Regions from separate parts of the Homo sapiens genome. Here region 1 is linked to region 2. The links are contacts of gene promoters, found by promoter capture Hi-C in human tissues and cell types (Jung and others, 2019). All regions are on one chromosome and are shown on one strand. Each heading gives the region's core, a stretch centred on a gene start or on the middle of the fragment in contact. The rest is flanking DNA. Distances are from core to core; before and after follow the strand shown.

The links. The method cuts DNA at HindIII sites, captures the fragments that hold promoters and counts their contacts. A contact is called where the count stands out against the background at its distance.
Region 1: a contact is called between a fragment that was not itself captured here and the fragment with the promoter of KCNH4 in region 2, in 3 of the 25 tissues and cell types used here (IMR-90 fibroblasts, bladder and hippocampus).

Annotation. Positions count from the first base shown.
Region 1 is chr17:42,253,709-42,257,820 of GRCh38, forward strand. The region is part of intron 1 of STAT5B (signal transducer and activator of transcription 5B); the gene reads right to left. Among named protein-coding and RNA genes, the nearest start is that of STAT5B, 21 kb to the right of the region's middle. The HindIII fragment of the contact is 4,124 bases long and covers 1-3,710 here.
Region 2 is chr17:42,179,401-42,183,270 of GRCh38, forward strand. KCNH4 (potassium voltage-gated channel subfamily H member 4) reads right to left here and starts at 1,742. Exons shown (of 17, transcript NM_012285.3): 1 at 1,470-1,742. The coding sequence starts at 1,545. RefSeq lists an enhancer at 135-702 and silencers at 1,652-1,891, 1,898-2,173. The HindIII fragment of the contact is 13,187 bases long and covers 1-3,870 here.

The DNA.
Region 1 (4,112 bases), core at 399-2,898, 74 kb after region 2:
TCTGTGGCCCAGACTGGAGAGCAGTGGCATGAACACAACTCATTGCAGCCTGTGACTCCTGGCCTCAAGTCATCTTGCCACCTTTGCCTCCCAAAGTGCTGGGATTACAGGCGTGAGTCACCGCGCCTGGCCTGGTTTTGGATAATTTCTCATTGTCAATACTTCTGTCTCTGGCACTTTAACAACTGCATTTGTAGACATTGTAAAAATAAATTTTAAAAATAACTTTCATATTCTATGGGCTTCGGCCTAAACTCTGATGGTTCCGAATCTACCTGTTGACCCCTCATGTTATAGGTTGAAACTATGAAGTCAAGCAGAAGTGATCTGCCCAATGTAAATGAGCACAGATACAGTGGTAGAAAATCACTTTACTAGCCCTATTTCAAGAGGCTCTAAAGGAGTCCACAACATCCCAGCACTTTGGGATGCTGAGGCAGGAGGATCACTTGAGGCCAGGAGTTCAAGACCAGCCTGGGCAACACAGCAAGACCTCATCTCTACAAAATAAAAATTAAAAAATTAGCCAGGCGTGCTGGTATGTACCTGTAATCCTAGCTACTCAGAAGGCTGAGGTGGGAGGATGGCTTGAGCCCAGGAGTTTGAGGCTACAGTGAGCCATGACTGCACCACTGCACTCTGTCTCTTAAAAAATAATAATAATAAAGTAGTCTACAGCCCAAGATCCTGCTTTAAAGCTAAATTCCATAGATTACTTTTCAAATCATCCTTCGAAGCTGTCCTCTCTTTGTTCCTATCAGTCAGAACTCCCAGTATATTTCTCTTTTTCCTCAACAAGTTAGTTTCTGTCCTTAAAAAAAAAAAAATTAAGAATATTTCCCCTTCATTTTGGTTCTCTTACTCTCTTTTTCTCTCTCCCTCCAGGTGAACTGCTAGAGAGCTATGATTGTTTCATCTATATTTGGACCCCTAGGGTCAGGCTGTGTCTTCAGCAACTACTCAGAAAAATGAGAATGAAAAAGAAAGAAAAAAGGAAGAAAGAGAGAGAGGGAAGGACAAACTGGAAGGGAAGGGAAGGAAAAGTAGGGAGAAAGGAAGATGTAATGAGAATAGAAAATTTTTAAAAATGGAAAAAAAAAGAAGGTCGGTGCGGTGGCTCATGCCTGTAATCCCAACACTTTGGGAGGCCTAGGCAGGCGGATCACGAGGTCAGGAGATTGAGACCATCCTGGCCAACATGGTGAAACCCTGTCTCTACAAAAAATACAAAAATTAGCTGGGTGTGGTGGCATGCGCCTGTAGTCCCAGCTACTTGGGAGGCTGAGGCAGGAGAACCACTTGAACCCAGGAGGCAGAGGTTGCAGGGAGCCGAGATCGTGCCACTGCACTCCAGCCTGGCAATGGAGCGAGACTCCGTCTAAAAAAAAAAAAGTTTCTTAACTGTCGTTTCTTAATGACACGCAATCAGAACCTCCCCTGCAGCTGAGGTCCCCTGTGGAGAGTATGTCTCATTGTCTGTATAAACAATTACAACAATGTACCTGTAATTTTCCAGTTCATAATCAGGCTGTAAGAATGAGAACAATTTGTTTTATGAAACATGGAGAAAGACTAATCTTTGCTATTACTCTCAGTGCAGGTTTATCAGCAAGACTTGGAGTAGATAAGCCACAGGCATACAGATGAGGAATCACATTTTGAAAGCTTTAATAACTCCCTAGTGGTATGCAACAAGCTGCTGAATTAACTTGTCTTTGCATACTCATTGCACATGCATCACTGGCCAGGTCTAGGTACAAAGCAAAAACTAAACAATCAAAGGAAAGAAAAACTGTGAAGTCTCCAACCAAAAGAATTATGTTGCAAAAAAAGGAATAAACACAAAGGGGCAGATAGTGTATGATTCCACTGATATAAGATGCCTGGAGTAGTCAAACTCATAGAGACAGAAAGAATGAATGGCGGTTGTCAGAGCCTGCGGGGAGGGGCAAATGGAGAGTTTTATTCTCATTACTGTTTAATGAATACAGGATTTTAGTTTAGGATGAAAAAATTCTGGAGATGGACCAGGTGCTGACGGTCACACAACAATGTGAATGTGCTTAATGCCACGGAACTGTACTTTAAAACAGTGAAAATGGCCGGGCACAGCGGCTCGCGCCTGTAATCCCAGCACTTTGGGAGGCCGAGGGCGGTTCACCTAAGGTCAGGAGTTCCAGACCACCCTGGTTAACATGGTGAAACCCCACCTCTACTAAAAATACCAAAATTAGCCAGGCATGGTGGCGTGCACCTGTAATCCCAGCTACTCAGGAGGCTGAGGCAGGAGAATTGCTTGAATCCAGGAGGTGAAGGTTGCAATGAGCTAACCTCCAGCCTGGGTGACACAGAGAAACTCCATCTCAAAATAAAAGGTTAAAAATGGTAAATTTTATGATATATATACGTAACTCCACAATCTTTAAAATGGGGTTAAAAAACCAGTTTTTGCCTAATAAACTCACATTTTTTCTATCTTTAATGCTGAAATCCAAAGGAAACAAAGAGATATTTGCTGTCTCCTCTCTCTTCTCCCCCATCCCCCCAACTTTTTTTGAGACAGCGTCTCACTCTGTGGCCCAGGCTGGTCTCTAACTCATGGGCTCAAGTGACCCTCCTGGCTCAGCCTCCCATAGTACTGGGATTATAGGCATGAGCCACTGCACCCAGCCCCCTCTCTTTTCTTTCTTCCACAGTAAAAGGCACACTTTCAGTCCTTCTGAGGGTTGAAGTTCTCTGGATACACCTGCTGTATTGAGATTAAAGGGGAATACAATAGTCTTTCCTTATCTGAGATTTTGTTTTCTATGGTTTCTGTTACCCACAGTACAGCATAGTAAGATACAGTATTTTAAGATAGACTACATTCGGCCAGGCACAGTGGCTCACGCCTGTAATCCCAGCATTTTGGGAGGCTGAGGCGAGCAGGTCACGAGGTTAGGAGATCGAGACCATCCTGGCTAACATGGTGAAACCCCGTCTCTACTAAACAAAATACAAAAAATTAGCCGGGTGTGGTGGCAGATGCCTGTAGTCCCAGCTACTGGGGAGGCTGAGGCAGGAGAATGGCATGAACCCAGGAAGCAGAGCGTGCAGTGAACGGAGATTGCGCCACTGCACTCCAGCCTGGGTGACAGAGCGAGACTCTGTCTCAAAAAAAAAAAAAAAAAAAAAAAAAAAGACTACATACTTGTTCTATTTTATTATCATTGTTCTTAATCTCTTACTGTGCCTAATTTATAAATTGAACTTTATCATAATTATATATGCATAGGAAAAAACAATATATATATGTAGGGTTCAGTATTACCTGAGGTTTCAGGCATCCCTTGGGATAAGGCAGGACTACTATACTTATTTAACAGATACTTATTGAGTAACTATTACATGTTGGGCTCTGTTCTAGGTACTAAGAATGTGGCAGTGAACAAAACAGACATGCTTTATGTAACTTAGATTCTGGTATGTAATATTAAATACTTTAAAGTTTAAATAAATAATTGTGCCCCTGCTACACTTTCTAGTTTTTGTTTTTATTCTTCTTCTCTTTATTTCTGTTGGGAGAAAACAGATACCACCTGACAATTGAATCTTACAGGTCAATGACAAAGTCTGTGTGTTCAAACCAGTATCTGGGAAGAAGTTTTAAAAGCACCTCCACAACATCAAACAGGGGGATTACTGGCTTTTGTGAAGTCTTGGTGATGCAAAAGCAATTTCTGATAAAACCAGAACATCTGTTCATCCCTGCTGAAAGCCTATCATCTTTATGGAGCTATTGTATGTGCAAAACAAATCGGGTCCAATCAAGGATTCCACAGTTAAGATCATTTCAGTGTGGCATTATTCCAGCTTTGGTCCAGGACATACAGTTTTATTTACAGGATAACTTTCATGATTGCCACAATCAAATCAAATCCTTTGTCTTTCAAAGGTGATTTGCAGATTCAATCTTCACAAAGCACTAAAAATATAGAGCATGGAGTTAAAAATTCACAATGGGACCACACACAAATAGCAGTACAGGGTGGTAGATAGCTAGCCAATGTTTACTTTCTTCTTTTTCCCATAGAATAAAATATAGGTCAAATTCTACTAAAACAACAAATACC
Region 2 (3,870 bases), core at 492-2,991:
AGTTGATGACCTCTTCTGTGCCTAAGCTTTCCTTATTTGCAAAGTAGGGCATAATAGGCCTTCCTCACATGGTCGTTGTGAGAGTTACATGAGTTAACTTGGGGAGAACAAGTCCTAGCACATGGTAAGTGCTACTCTGAGAAGGTGAAATTTTTTCCCCACATTCACTTGGCTTTCTTCCTATTACAGAGTAAGCAGGGCAGAGATTCTGATGACACCACACCCATTTATTGATAGGAAACCAAAAGGCAGAGATTATCCAAACTCACAGATCTCCTTAGTGTGGGGGCAGACAGTGATGAGTGCTGTCTTCCTTCCCTGCCTTCCAGAGAAGGTCCACTTTTTAGCATTCTTGTAGCTGCTTTCAGGGGATCTGCCCCACTGCTCAAAGTCTAATGGGAGAGGGCATTGAGCGTATAGCTCCAGCAACCCCCAGCAGCAGAACCCGAGCTGTCTCCCTCCAGCTCCAATGGGTGGGAGGCCAGGGGGACTCCTGTGGGCCATCCAGGGACAGAGACTCAGCTAAGAGATGGGGCCTGTGACACAACCAGTCCTGGTGCTCTAGGAGGGATGACTGTCTGGGGGCAGGGAGGCTGATGGGGACACTGAAGGTGCCTGGGAGGCACTGGGCTCTGGGCACAGCCTCCTTCTTCCATCCCAGGGCCTGTTGCCCCGGTGATGGGCGCTATGGAAACAAGGTGGTGGGGAAGAGGGTAGGGCCCGGCGGCTCAGTTTCCGCCCTCGGGTACCGCTCCCCCACCATCCAGATCCCGGCCAGGGTTCCCGAGGGAATGGCGGGGTTGGGGGAGGTGAGGGCGGGGAATCTCTGGGTTCCAGAGTGGGAAGAGGGAATGGCGGGAGAAGAGGCGGGGGAGGAGTGATGTGGCTGTCCAAGGTGCTGAACCTGAAACCCAAGCTACGTTGGGCGAGCTGGGAGTTCCCACCGTCGCACAGACCGCTCCCCTCCTCCTGCCTCACCCACCTTAGACACTGACGCCCCACGATTTGGGGGCGCGCGACCTCAATCCAAACTAGGTCCTGCTGAAGTCTGATCTTTTCTCCTTTTTTTCTGGAGGTAGTGGGAGCTGGAGTCTGTGAGTAGACCCCAGAATGCCCGGCCACTTTGCCCCACTTCTGTGTCTCGGATACCCCCATACACGCCCCCAGCACAGCTCTGCCCGAGAGTGGGCGGCTCCGAAGGACCCTCCTCCGCTCTGCCGCACAAAGAGCCTCTTCTGCCTCGAGTCACACCCCCTAACCTTGGCCCCCGTGCTCTCGGCCCTTTCCCCTCCTCCCCTCGCAGGGCACTCCCCGCCCTGTTCCTGCACCGCGGCTTTGGGAGTTCCTAGACCCGCACCTCCATTCTCTCCCCTCGCCTCGGGTCTCACCATGTCCAGGAGATCCGAGACGGCCCCGAGGATACTTGCCCCCCAGCTCGAACCTCAAGCCCCGACCTCCGTCCCACTCACGCGTTCCGTCAAAACGGGTGGCGATGGTGTCCAGGAAGGTGTTTTGCGGGGCCAGCAACCCCTTCATGACCGGCATGGCCCCGGGGCGTGGGTTCAAGGCGCGGCGCTGGGGAGCTTTCAGCGCGGCCGGGCCGGAGGGGGCGCGCTGTCGGAGGGGCCGGGGCGCCCCATGCGCCCTCCTGCCTCCTCCCCTCCCTCTTACTGCCGCTGCCGCTGCCGCTGCCTCTGCTCCGAACCCCGTAGCTCTCGGCTCGGCTCAGCGCCGTTTCGGTCCCCCCCACCTCCCCACGGGCCAGGTTCTTCCCCTCGGGCTCGGCCCGCACCCGCCACGTGGCCCCACACGGGGAGGGGCCGCTAGCGACACCCGCACCCCTCTGGGCAGCCCTCCTCCCAGAGGGGAGCGGCCCACGCGTGTCTCTCGGGGAGAGAATTCGGGGCACGCCCACCGGGAGGGGAGGCCTGAAATGATGGGCGGGGCTTGAATAACAGACCCGCCCTCTTCCAGGCTGGCCACGCCTCCACACGTGGTTCCCTGGCTGCTCCTTGTGGCTCCACCTCGCGGGTTTTCCCGCGCGGCGTCCACGCTGGGCTGGTGTCTGGTTCACAGTGCCGCCTACTGGAGTTGACATATTTCGCAGCACCCACAGGCCAGTAGCTCCAGCGTGAGACAGCAAGGGTTAAGAGGCTAGTTTGCTGGTAGAGAATGGACAATGGGAAGGCTTGAAACCCCAACTCTAGAAAGCACCATTCTTACCTCCTGCCTCAGTTTTCCCAAGACACCCTGGCGAACTCTGCCTACTGAGACACAGCATGGTGGAATGAAAAGAGCTTTGGAGTCCACCAGGTAGAGTCCCAGCTCTAGACACCAATCGTGTGATATCCTCTCCAAGCCCACTTTCCTCATCTGTAAAATGGAGCTGATAATTCTTACCTGATGCAGTTACCGTGAGAATGTAATACCATAATGCATGTCTTTGGTACAAAATAAGTGTCTTGAAGGGCAGTTGCCTGCCTGTTTTCCCTCTTCCTACTGTCTTAATCCTCCTCTCTGCTGCCCTTCAAGTGGAAGAGAGGCTGGAGGCAAGTTTGGGAGAAACTACCTCTGAAAAAGATAGTTTCGAGGTGGGCAGAGTCATGGCTTGCAAATCTCCAAGGATGCACATGTGAACTTTGACCTCTAACTTCTCCAAGATGGAACCAGTACAGCAGCAAGAGGGACCAAAGTGAGACTAGACACAGGACTTTCTCACTACCTATGCAGAAAATTGAGGCAGCTGAGTTCTGTGGCTGAGGGTGGCTGCTTCCCACGACAAAACAGCTGAAGCAGTGAAAGTGGGAACCCTATGGGCAAGGAGGGCAGGCTAAATTCTCCCCACCCTCTGAGCTAGGTATTATCTGGGATGTTAGATTGCTAAGAAGTGCCACATTTTTCTGTGTCTCTACTTTTGTTGTTGTTGTTGTTCTTGTTGTTCTTGTTCTTGTTGTTTTTGAGACGGAGTCTTGCTCTGTTGCCCAGGCTGGAGTGCAGTGGCATGACCTCAGCTCACTGCAACCTCTGCCTCCTGGGTTCAAGCAATTCTCCCGCCTCAGCCTCCTTAGTAGCTGGGATCACAGGCGTGCATTACAATGCCCGGCTAATTTTTGTATTTTTAGTAGAGATGGGGTTTCGCCATGTTTGCCAGGCTGGTCTTGAACTCCTGACCTCAAGTGATCCGCCCGCCTCAGCCTCCCAAAGTGCTGGGATTACAGGCATGAGCCACGGAGCCTAGCCTGTGTCTCTACTTTTGGATGTTATATTAGTTTCCTAGGACTGCCATAACAAAGTACCACAAAGTGAGTGGCTCAAACAACAGAAACCTATTGTCTCACAGTTCTGGATGCTAGAAGTCCAAGCAAGGTCAGGTGAAGAGCGTTGGTTCCTTCTGAAGGCTATGAGGGAGAATCTGTTGCATGCCTCTCCCCTATCTTCTGGGGGTGGGGGTGCTGGCAATTTTTGGTGTTCCTTGGCTTGTAGGAGCCAATCTCTACCTTCATGTTCACATGGGTTCTCCCTGTGTGTGTTTCTGTGTTCCAATTCCCTTTTTTATAAGGACGCCAGTCACAGTGGATTAGAGGCCCACCCTACTCTAGTATGACCTCATCTTAACTAATTGCATCTGGAAGGACCTTATTTCCAAATACAGCCACATTCTGAAGTGCCACGGGTACGGACTTCAACATATGGATTTTGGGAACACCAGTAACAGGTGTCTTTGGCTGGAGTTGCAGTAAAATCTTGTACTGCCCCTGCTTAAGAATGTCCCATGACTCTGTTACCTACAAGATAAAGTGCAAAGCCCGATGATTTGTGAGAGCCTTTGCGAGCTGTGCTGCACTGACTGTAACTGTGTCCCTTCCTGAG